Regions from separate parts of the Homo sapiens genome. Here region 2 is linked to region 1. Evidence: promoter capture Hi-C in 16 types of primary human blood cells and fetal thymus (Javierre and others, 2016). All regions are on one chromosome and are shown on one strand. The core of a region is centred on a gene start or on the middle of the fragment in contact, and the rest is flanking DNA. Distances in the headings are between cores, read along the strand shown. Region 1 holds the start of DNAJB8 (DnaJ heat shock protein family (Hsp40) member B8). Region 2 overlaps RUVBL1 (RuvB like AAA ATPase 1).

Region 1 (5,705 bases), core at 1,988-4,487:
GTGACCCAGGTGGTGTGGGCTGAGTCCCGGGAGCCAAAGGGCAGAGGCAGGATCAGCCACGGGATTCCAGCCTTGGTGAGTGACAAAGGTCTGTGGCCGTGGTGGGGGAGGCGGGCAAGGGCGTCCTGGGTATGTCCACTCGGCCGATGGCTGGGCAGCAGCTGAGGCAAGAGGAGGCCAAGGTGGGGTTCAGGCAGGCTGGGGTGGGGACAAGAGCCTGCTTTTTTTGTGCCCATTATCTGGCCAGGTCTTCCGGGGTAAGCTCCACAAAGGCGGGAAAGTCTGTCCCTGTCTAGGACAGTGGCTGGCACACGAGGGCCGTCGGTAAACTCTTGGATGAACCAGGCTCAGAGACACACAGTGCTCAAGGTCACACAGCGAGTCAGTGAGGGAGGGGATGTGAAACCAGGGCCAAGGCTGCAGCGGACAGCAAATCCAAAGAAGTGTTCCACTCAATTCTGGTAAGAAAAATAGGAATTGATGATAAATATTGATTACTGACTGTAGTGGGTTGAATGGTGGCCCCCAAAAAGATATGTTCCTATCCTAATCCTTGGAACCTCTGAATGTGAGCTTATTTGGAAAAAGGATCTTTTCGGATGTAATTAAATTAAGGATGTCGAGATGAGATCATCCTGGATTATCTGAGTGGGCCCTAAATCCAGTGACACATGTCCGTATAGGAGATGGACACTGACGCAGCTGGAAGCTGGGGGCCAGGAGGGTTCTCCCTGCAGCCTCCAGAGGGAGTGCGGCCCCACTAACACCTCGATTTCAGACCTCTGGCCTCCAGAACTGGGGGAAGAGATTTCTTTTGTATTGAGCTACCCAGTTTGTAATAATTTGTAACAGCCCTAGAAAACGAATCAGGTGAGTGAGGTAACCAAATATTCTTAGGCATTTATATTCCTTTAATTCTTGTTCTGGTGTTGGATCATATATAGAAACAGCAATTCACAATACTGATTAATATCTGTTCCTACCTTCACCTCACCCCACTCCAATTAAGATCAAAACCATGCTAAACCACCTACTAACCACACCAATAAAGAGCCTAGATGTTTGGGTCACCAAGTCTTAACTAAAGATAGCCTTCCTGCCTGCCTTCTTTCCTTCCTCCCTTCCTCCCTCCCTCCTTCCCTCCTTCTTTCCCTTCCCTTCCCTTCCGTTCCCTGCCTTCCTTCCCTCCTCCCTCCCTCCCTTCCCCCTCCTTCCTTCATTTCCTCCTTCCTTCCTTCCTTCCTTCCTCCCTTTCTCCTTCCTTCCTTCTTTCTTTCCTTCCTCCCTCCCCTTCCCCCTTCTCCCTTCCCTCCCTTCTTCACTCCTGGCTTCTTTCCTTCCTCCTTCCTTCCTTCATTCCTCCCTTCTTCCTCCTCTTCCTTTTTCTAGTCTTCATCCCTTTCTATTATCCTCCCTCTCTCTCTTTTCTTTCAGTGCTCATGGGTGCTAGGTTTCAGGCTCCTAGCAGGGGACAGTGTGTGTTCTAACCAATCCCAAATGCCAGGAGGAATGGAGACAGACTGTAGAGACACTTTGTAAACCCAGCCTCCAGTGACCATCGCTGTCCCTCCATGCAGCTTATCAAAAGCACGACTCGCACCCCCATGCTGGGCATCCACCCACCTACACCTGCTGACACATGTGGCTTAGCAGAGGAGTTGAAGAGCAGAACTTCTCCACTGGATGTAGCTACAGATGAACCTGATTCTTTATCTCTGTGGCTGGATTTTTGTCACTATGTCTCGGTTAGCAGTTAGCACCTGCTGTCCCTTGCAGGCTTGTTCCTGGGGCGGGAGAAAGATGCTTGCCCTGCACAGTTCTCCATGATGGCGGTGGCAGTGGGAGAGGCACTGCTGTTGACTGTGTTGCTGGTGGGGAGAGGCACGGTGGGTGTCCATGGAGATGGATAAGGTGTCATTATATAGTAGAGGTGACCATGGGAGCAGTGTTGATGTGGAGGTAATGGTCATGGTGGGTGTGAGGGGGAGAGTAATTATGGGTGATGGTGGAGTTGATCATGATGATGGTGATGCTGGTGGTGACAGCAGCAAGGCTTGTGCTTGAGAGTAATTGATGATGGTAGTGGTGGTGGTGATGGTCATGCCAGAGGAGATGGTAACAGCGAGCCTTTGTTGTGGTTGGCAGTGATGGTGCAGGTATGATGAGGAGGTGATGGGAATGGCTCCTAGTGAGCCATTGGTGTGGTTGGCAGTGGTGACAGTAATGGTGATGATGAAGGTGAAGGTGGTGGAGGTAGCAGAGGTTGTATCTTGTTCGGCTATACCACAGTGACAGCTTCCACCTCTCAGTGGCTCACGACAAACATCTAGTTCCCCCCACTTCACTCACTGGTGCCTACAGGCAGCTGCCAGGGCCCCACCTCCCATAGCTTCTCACTGTGGGTCCCAGGCTGGAGAATCAGCTCTGACCTGCACACCCCTCTCTCATGACAGTGCCACTCAGAGACAGCAGGAACTTGGGCTGCCTCTGAAAGCTTCTGTTGGGCCATGATGTGTGGCAGTCTTGCTGCATCCCATGGTCAAGGCCAGTATCCATGGGGCAAAGAATGTTTCCTTCAGGAAGGTTCTGCAAATCTCAGGGCAATAGGAAGAGAGGCCTGAGATTCCCATGGGGAAGAGGGAGTGAGCAGTTCTCCAACATATGCCAGATGCTCAAGATGGGACTGACAGCGGGGCTGGTAACGATGGCTCTGCTGGGAGCAGTGTTGGTGCTGCTGGTGCCGGGGACACCCGTGGTGGTGATGGGATAGGAGGCAGGAATTGTGCTATTAATGGAGGATGGTGGTGAGGGTGGTTGTGGAAGAGGCAATGGTAGAGGGGGGTGCCGAGGGGTGAGAAGGACACAGTGGTGGACATGCTGGTGTGAGTGCCGATGGCGATGGTGATGGCACTGAGGTGTGGGGCTCTGTATTTTCTGTTGCTAACTTGGCATTACACCAACCTCTTCCATGGTCTCCTTGCATCCTGGAGAAATCTGAGGGATTTTCCAGAATCCCATCACCGGTATAATTCCAGACTAGAGCCTGCCAATACAAGGGATTTGGAGAGTGGAAAAGAGAGGCCGTTGCAGGCAGGTGACAATGGTGAGCTTTGCAACAGCTCGGGGCAATCTTCTGCGAAGACCCTGCTTCTGAGCCACAGGCTGAGGCATGGATGGGGAGCTTCCTGGAATACCGTGAGCTCCTCAGCAGCTCCCAGGCAAGCTCTAGAGAGCCGCTCACCTGGGAGCTGCAGGTGAGCATCTCGATTCCTTGTTCCCTGACCGCTGGTCCCAGACTGTTCAGGGTGCAGCGTGTAGTAAATGTCCTCCTCCTTGGTACACATTTGAGGGCTGTGTACTGTGAGGGTGATGGCGGCTCAGATGAAGGTGGTGGTTGTGATGGAGTTGGGTGTGAGGATAGCAGAGAGAAAGCAGATGGTGACATCAGGAAGGCATTGGAGGGGCAGTGGTGGTGGCAGTGATGATGGTGGCAGTCTAATTAGAGGCAGTGGTGGGTCTGGCTGAGGCAGACCCGGTGGTGGTGATGGTGGTGGTAGTAGAGGGGGCAATGACGGTGGTGATGGCAAAGGCGGTGTGAGTGGTTGATACTGGTGGCAGAGCTGATAAGGTGATGTCACAGATGGGATGGTGGGTGGAGATGGAGGTGGAGGAAGTGTGGTGACAGTGATGTGGTGGTGACACAATGCTGACACGGGTGGAGAGCACCGTGGTGACGGTGACAGAGATGATAGTGATAGTGGGGCTGGTGGCAGTGGTAGAGGAGATGGGGATGGGACGCTGGGGTGTTGATGGTGATGGTGACACTGCTGAGGGTGTTGGTGGCCTGACATTGTAAAGGTGAAGCCTGAAGTTTCCATGACGATGGAATCAGGACAGTGGAGGAGGGGTGGTGAAAACAATGTTAAGAGACAAAGGACCTAGTATGATGAGGCATCCAAGAATCCTGTGGCCGCCTCCCCGTCCTGGCCCTCCCTGCCTTGTTGGAGACCCTGGCTCTGGTCTGCGTTGTACTCCCAGGGGAAATTTCTTCCAGCCACTGCCCTGCTCCAACCCTTGTTCCTGGGATGGGTCTGTGGGAGTCAGCCAGGATGGAGACAGGGCTGGAGACCCCCTCACTGCCGCCCATTCAGGGCTGTCTTAGGGCACACAGAACAGACCACTCGGTAGGACTTACGGGAACAGGTGTGTCACCTGGGAGCAGGTCCCACACCTCACCATCAAGGGCATCCTGAGATGGAGGCCCCTGTGGGGAGCTCCCCATGAAGGGAGCTGTGGACCGTGGAGCCGGGCAGTGTGCAGAGGAGTTTCCCTTCTGCAAAGGGTTCAGGCTAGTCTCCTTCCACGCCAGTTTTTGGGGAGCCAGTGGGGAGCATCAGGGGCTCTGAGGCCTCCATAGGGCCTGCTGGAGGGACAGGGACACACAGGCATGAGCGCACACTTAGGCCCCACACGCTCCACCGTCAATTCTGTCAGGCCACCTCCCCTCTTCAAGCCTCTCTGTCCTCATTCACCAGTGGGTGCTTTTGGGGATTTGCCCTCTCTGGGGAGCCAGCCTAGGCTTCCTGGCCTCAGATGTCCCATGTCCCTCATCTCAGGCCCACCCTAAAGCCAACCCCGAGCCATGGCCAGGGAGAGAAGGACCTTCAGCGACCAAGCGAGGCCCAGAGAGGGCAGGGCACACCGAAGGTCACACAGCAGTACCAGGAAGGTCTCCCCCGGGCGAGCTGATGGAGCCGATTAAGCAGCCAATTGGTATTCGGAGCAGCCAGAGGCCCCTCTCTGTCTCTGTAATTAATGGAGTGGCTTTTTAAAAGGATTCTAATCACCCCCGATCCTATCTGCTTATCACTAGAGTTCCTAATTAGATGATCCTGGCAGTCACTCAGCTAATTCCCTCCAGCCCCCTGCAGGCCTGCCTGGCCTGGGCAGCCCACCCCACCCCCGGCCACCCTGGCCCGGCCAGATGGGCAGTTTGGGGCCTTCTCTCCCCTCAGGGCCCCTGGTCCTCTAACTGCATTAGCTCCAGGATGGATGGGCGACAGCGATGGATGGATGGACGGGCGGCTGGATGGACAGAGTGGCAGGCGAATGAAGGGGCTGAACGGTGGGCAGTCACAGAGTGGATGGGCGGATGGACAGACAGACGGGCCAAGGGGCAGATCCCACAGTGGGGAAGAGCTCAGCCTGTCAGGTGACACAGCCTGGGTTCCAACCCCAGCACTGCCACTCCCCAGCCATGTGTCCTTGGGGAAGTCAATAACCTGGCTGTGCCCCAGTGTCCTCATCTCATCTGTAAAAGGGAAGTAATGATGGTCCCCTCTCACAGGGTTACTGTGAGGAGCTCAGAATGGAGAAGGAGCTGTGTGTGCGTGTGCTGGCATCCTGGCAGTGTCGATAATGGGTGGGCAGAGACAGATGAAAGGGCAGCCTGCCTGGTGAGCCAGTGGAAGCCATGGTAGGCAGACAGGCCCATGGCAGGCTTACATGCAGATTGGTGGCCCATGGGGTGGGAAGGCGGTGGGCTACGCAACCGTAGAAGGGCCAGTGAGCTCACGTCCTCCCCAGTGGTGCCAGGGCGATCTCAGCTCTGCTCTCAGACCTCTTCAGGCAGCCTTCCTGCCCAGTCCTCCAAGCCAGTGATGACAGGTGCCCACTGGGTTGCCCAGATCCCTTCCCTGCCATCC
Region 2 (6,058 bases), core at 3,422-5,921, 370 kb before region 1:
GCTTTGGGCCAATCTTGGCAGGATGAGCACCGTATGAACACTTGTCTTCCAGGGGTCAACATCTGCCCTTCCCAAAGGCAGGCCAAAGGGATGGGAAAGAGTGGAGCGGGAGGATGGAAAGACACCAGTGTGGTTCAGAGGTCTGGGATAGAAAGAAAATGCTGGGGCCGGGCGTGGTGGTTCATGCCTGTAATCCCAGCACTTTGGGAGGCTGAGGCGGGCAGATCACGAGGTCAGGAGATCAAGACCATCTTGGCTAACACGGTGAAACCCTGTCTCTACTAAAAATACAAAAAAATTAGCCAGGCGTGGTGGTGGGCAACTGTAGTCCCAGCTACTCGGGAGGCTGAGGCAGGAGAATGGTGTGAACCCGGGAGGTGGAGCTTGCAGTGAGCCGAGATCGCGCCACTGCACTCCAGCCTGGGCGACACAGTGAGACTCTGTCCCCAAAAAAAAAAAGAAAGAAAATGCTGGTTTTGTTATCAGAAGGAGCTGGGTTCTTATCCTGTCTTTACGATGAGGGACAAGTTATGATTCCAGTTTCCTTATTTGAAAAATGACGCCAATAATGCCTACCTCTCAGAGCGCAGATGAAGACTGAAGACGTTCATGTGTATAATGTCATCAAAGGCTAGCCCTGTCTGATCTCACCTTTGTACACTCCAATTGAACGACCAAATTGTAGTATCACACCCAAAAGATCACGTGGGAGACCCTCCTCATGAGTGACAGGACAGCTGCTGCCTTTGGTGACTAGGGAAATGAGGCCAGAGGCAAGCCACTTGGCACATTTTCCCTCAAAAACAACATGACCTCCCCTCATCCCTGTCCCACCTCATGGGGTTTGGAGAGATCCTGAGGAACAAATGAGCCCAGATGGAAGTTAAAAAAGCCTTGTGGCTGGCAGGCAGCCATCCTACCTGATGACACAGTTGCCTCGGTTGGATGCAAAGATGACGATGGGAGCGATAGAAGACTCCAGGGCGCGGTGCAGGTAGGTGAAGCACTCAATGTCCAGCATGTGGACCTCATCAACAAACAGCACACCCGGGACCAGCTCAGCAATGCCCTGGTCGATGTACTTGTTCACCACCTTATTAATCTCCCCTCGAAGTTTGTCTAGGAGATGCAAGGATGGGCAGGCAAGGTCAGCACAGGGCTGGGGGAGACTATCGCCTTTTCTCCTCCACCTGAATTCAATCCAAACCCATGCTAGGAGCCTAGTTTTCCTACTAGCTATGTGATCCCAGACAGGGTGTGTCCCCACTCCAGGTTTCAGTGTCGTCATCTGAACACAGTGATAATCACACCTAAAAGGTCACAAAATTGGCAGCCTCCCCCAAAAGATGAGTTTGGTTAAATGTAAAAAGGTTGCACAGGTGTTCTGCATGGGAATCCCTTCACAGCACACGCTCACTGCTGTCACACTCCCTACCATGCCTTATCACTTCCCACATACCCAATCTAGCTCTGTCTGATCTGGGAGACATTGGAGTTTGGGAGCCCTGGGTGAAATGAGTTTTCACATGCAAATTTACCTGTTCTATACTCAGTAAATGACCCTTTCTTTTGGTCCCATACAACAATGCTTAGGTTAATTAACTTTCAATCAAGTGCCTGGACTAAGGAAGTGGGTGCTTTTAGAATCCTGAGCAGAAACCTTTGAGGAATGAAAGGCTCTGAAGAAAGGCCCAATCTCAGAGCTCCTAGAGGGATGAGTCTCTCAAAAGTTACATAACCCAGCTAAGGTCTCAGTGCTCATTTTCCAAACCAGCTCCTGTGTTATCATCAGGAGGGAGCAGCTCACAAATAGAAAACTGGAAGATCTGAGGCAGCGTCTTCCACCAAAGGCAAGAGGCGGGGATTGTCCAAAGAGGATGCACACCGAAAACCGTGTGAAAAGAAAGAAACTGCTTCTGACAACTCGAACAGAAAGGTCTCAGATTGCTGCCCTGGCTTAAACTTTAAAGACAATATTTGCTTTAATGTTTAACTAACATCTTAAGGTGACGAAACTGTAGGTGGAATTAGAAAAAAAACAGCAACAGGAAAGCTGGGAAGAGCAGCAGGTTAAATAAAGGTTCACAGGGGAGCAGCAGCAGTGTCCCCTGTGGAGCTCTGGGAAGTGCCCACAAACTGGGCAGGGCAGTATGTGGAGCTGGTCTGTGGAGCTGCCCTGTGCTCTACTAGGGAGGGGGCTGACAGCCCCAAGGCTCCAGAGCCTGTGCTCCAGCAGAGCTGGGCGACACAAATCCCTATTTCTGGGGCCTCATAGGGGCCAGAAACTGTGACTGCAGTGGGGCAGATAGCACACAGTGTGCTATATGGCTGCCTAAATGCCGCCAGAAACTTAGGCTAGAGTCAAGCTCTAAGCTATGAGGAAGAAAGAACTGTTCTGAGGCATTTCCTCAGGGCGACTGTGCTCACAGAGCCGCAAGAGCATCTCAGAATGTGGGGCCCTCCGCCCTGCCCCTTGCTCACAGGGCACACTGGTTCTCCTACCTGTGATTTCTGTCTTCTTTGGCTTCATTAGCTGGCCCATCATGGACAGGATATCTTGTCCCCCCTGCATAAGAGAAGACTTAGAGTCAGTGCTGCTTTCTAAGGTGACTACAGAAGCCTCATCCCCCTGCATCCCACTCATCAACTCAACATGGGATCCTGAGGTATGGAGACCCCTCCTCAAAGCCTGAGGAGCTTCTAAACACAGAGGAATTTTTAGAGGTTCCCCTAACCTGTAAGAATCAAACAAAATCCTTTCATGGCAAGTATAAGCTCCGTGGGGCCTGCCCAGCCTCCTTTTCCAGCCCTATCTTTTTCCAACCCCTTGTTCCTTGATTAGCCACACAAGACTACCAGCCCTGCCCTGGACACCCCCAAGCTTTTTTATGACTCAATGCTTTTGAGTCTATTCCATCTGCCAGGAATGCCATTCTCCTTCCTAGAAGTTCCCAGTCATTAAAGTTCACGTCAAATGCCCTCTAGGGCGCATCTGACCCTAACCGGACTCAGGACTTCCTCCAAATGTTCCTGTGCCTTTGGGGACACATGGACTATAAGAGTAAGTATAAAGAGCAAGTATAAATATACCATGATTATATTGCTGTGCCTCCTCTCACTAGATTTGACCACAGGCTTGCATCAGCCTAGTCCTTACTTAACTTGGAGCTGATCATGGCTGACTCCATAACAGGTTCACCACTCACCTGCATCCTCCTGCGGGCTCCTAACAGTGCAGTCAGCAAGAGGAAGAGGCTGGTGTTTGGTCATTTATTCAGCATTTAGTGATCACCTGTTGGTTACCAGGCCCTGAGACACAGAAGGGCTCACTAAATGCTGAATAGCTAAAGGCAGCAAATGTTTCCTGTCTGGTCCTCAAAACTGCCTTGCCAAGTAGGAGGGAACTCAAAACCGAACCCCAAACCACAGAAAACCCAGAGACCCAAAGTGACAAATTAACCAAGCTGGTCAGTGATGGAGCAACACAGTTCCTGACTTCTGACTCCCAGCCCAGCACTCTTCTCAGGTCAAGGGCTCCCAGGAGGTCAGTTTGGGGATGGCCATTTCACCAACCAAGGGGACCTGTTGGTCCAAGATGAGTCTTCAGTAATCTCTTGACCAAAGCTCCAAGGAACAAAACACCCACGGATCAAATTTCAAGTCAGAAAACAAACTATTCCCTAATAGTGACTATTCACTATTTCCTAGAAATGTCATATAGTGATAACATCCTTTCCTGCACTTTACTAGCCAAGGCATAAGTATCCATCTGTATGAGAAGCAGACAACAGTACCAGCTCAAAGCTAAAACACTGTGGCTTTTGCTAAGCAGGGGGAAAGAAAGAGCTTTGTTAGGCTTTCTGAAATCCTGTAAAGGGCTCATAGAACACTCCTGCCCTCCTGCCATTAACACCCAGAAAATCCCAGGTGTGAGCCCACTGCTGGAGTGAAGCCATGGAGGAAGCTGGCTAGCTCAGGGCCAGAGGCTTGGCTGGGATAAGAAACAATACACATGAAATCATCTGTGACTAGAGCATTTGAATGGGAACAAAGGAGTCCCTCGTAGCTCATGTCGATGTTAATTGCTGAACATTACAGATAGAAAAGGACCGTCTACCTCAAGAAAGGCAGCAAGACTCTGACAATTCATTCCCAGATCTCCACACACATACAAAAGGGCTAATGTGCCAGATCACCCAGGCATCGAGGCAGTACCTGGGGCCGCGCATTAGCCACATCCAAGTCATGCAAGGTCACATCTTGGATGATTTCTTTCTTTTTGTGCACATCCCCTTTTGGCAAGGGGACATACTCTTCAGCTTCAAGGTCGAATTCTGTGGCATAGGTATCACACCTGCCCTGCCTCTGCAAAAAGAGAGAAACATGAGTGCCTGGTAAGTTTTCACTGCCAAGTCCCCAAATGGCACAGGGCTAAGTGAGATAAAGGTCTCAGTTCCCACTGCAGGCCTGACAGCCTACTTGACAAACTCCAAATATGCCCCACTCCCCTGCTGCCAAGAGAAGGGAGCTATCTGCTCATCGCTGGGCTCCAAAAACTGGGTTGAAAAACACCTGATACTTTCTCCCAAAATCCTTTTTCCCTTCTTTCTTTTAACTGTATGCAATTCCTGATAAAGGCCAAATCCAGTAGATTAACTGGAGGCAGAGGAGCTGCTCAGACTCTTTTGTAGGTGGATGATTTATTGTATGATATGAAGTATTATGCCCATCCATTAAACAGTGAGGAACACTGTACAGGACCCTGAAAATCAGATAGAAAAGAATGCCAACGAATGCAGCGTTCCTTCCCACATGCATATATCTTGGGAAGAAAATACCAAAGAGATAAAAGGAAGATTAAATACACTGCACATTTCAATTTGAAAGTGACTAAAGTTGTTTTGGTTTCTCACCCTGTCCTCCCCCTCTGAACAGGTTTTAGTATTTTTTCTAACAGACTATCTGTTTTAATCGCGAGAAGGTTAAAGAATGAAGATAAAGGGAAGGCAAACTTTATTATACATAAAGGGCCACTAGTTGACCTTCCATCAGCCTCATAACAGACACCAGCCCCTCCCCACACACCCCACACCCTCTGAAGAAAGCAACTCCCTTGTCACTTAGGTCTTCTCATGGCAAACAAATCAGGGACAATGCTGTGTCCCAAGGAAGGCATTACCTTCACGGCCCCACTGTTGGCTTCAATGTAAATCACATCTCCAGCTTCTACTCGCTCTTTCTGCAAACTTTCAAAAATGCTGGGGTCCAGCTAAAAAAAAAAATGTAAATCAGAAGTGTAATACATATTCCATTTCCTTCTGACACCATGTAAGGTACCTTTCCGTAAGGGATCTGAGGTAGCTAGCAGGTGCATGGAGAAAGCCTGTTTTGCGTTTGCATGAATACTGGGACCTGCAGGAGTGTGAATGCATAAGTACCACACAACAGACTGGCTGGGGGACTAAGCACACCAGGGAGAAAATAGGGGGGCCAGCATACCTGCATCCCTATGTAACGAGCATGAGAGGGACACAGGGGACACGTACTCTCCTCTTTCCCTTGATTCCAAAGGCTGTAAACTGGCAGCAGCGCTTTTATAAGGATGGTCCTGGCTGCCGTGAGACGGGTGGGCCCAGCCCCCACTGTCCACAGGACCACAGGCCCTATCACCCCTCTTGAAATCATCATCCCTACTTCACTCCTTCATTTGCCTCACCTCAGGTGGGGTGGAACTTTCCACAACTGAAGTACCTGCCAGCACCTGCTTACCAATCTCAAAGCTGGCATCTTGCAGGGCCTTTGATTTTGGATAAGGTTCTCAGTTCTAAGTTTCCTCATCTATACAACAGCACCCAGGTGCAATCACAGATGTATACAGTAATTCAAAGAAAAACATAAATGAGAATCTTTCCCAAGCCTTTTGACTCACATCCCAGTGTTTGTGCCCTTGGGTCTGCCTGCTTATATCTCCAGGAAAGGAAATAAGCAGATTTGCGGAACTGTTGCTTTTCTCCAGATTCTGGTGACCCTCAGTGATTAATATTCTAGGACAGCTGCC

Evidence for each region. The method cuts DNA at HindIII sites, captures the fragments that hold promoters and counts their contacts. A CHiCAGO score of 5 or more calls a contact.
Region 2: a contact is called between a fragment that was not itself captured here and the fragment with the promoter of DNAJB8 in region 1, in 3 of 17 cell types (erythroblasts, non-activated CD4 T cells and megakaryocytes). The highest score is 6.1, in erythroblasts.

What each region holds. Positions count from the first base shown.
Region 1 is chr3:128,463,653-128,469,357 of GRCh38, forward strand. It overlaps DNAJB8 (DnaJ heat shock protein family (Hsp40) member B8), which reads right to left and starts at 3,238. Exons shown (of 3, transcript NM_153330.6): 1 at 2,962-3,238; 2 at 1,624-1,784; 3 at 1-458. It overlaps DNAJB8-AS1 (DNAJB8 antisense RNA 1), which reads left to right. Exons shown (of 3, transcript NR_037890.1): 1 at 1-75; 2 at 248-461. The HindIII fragment of the contact is 7,883 bases long and covers 2,493-5,705 here.
Region 2 is chr3:128,096,380-128,102,437 of GRCh38, forward strand. It overlaps RUVBL1 (RuvB like AAA ATPase 1), which reads right to left. Exons shown (of 11, transcript NM_003707.3): 5 at 5,180-5,269; 6 at 4,216-4,365; 7 at 2,503-2,566; 8 at 921-1,119. Among named protein-coding and RNA genes, the nearest start is that of RUVBL1-AS1, 24 kb to the left of the region's middle. RefSeq lists an enhancer at 3,833-4,352. The HindIII fragment of the contact is 3,585 bases long and covers 2,880-6,058 here.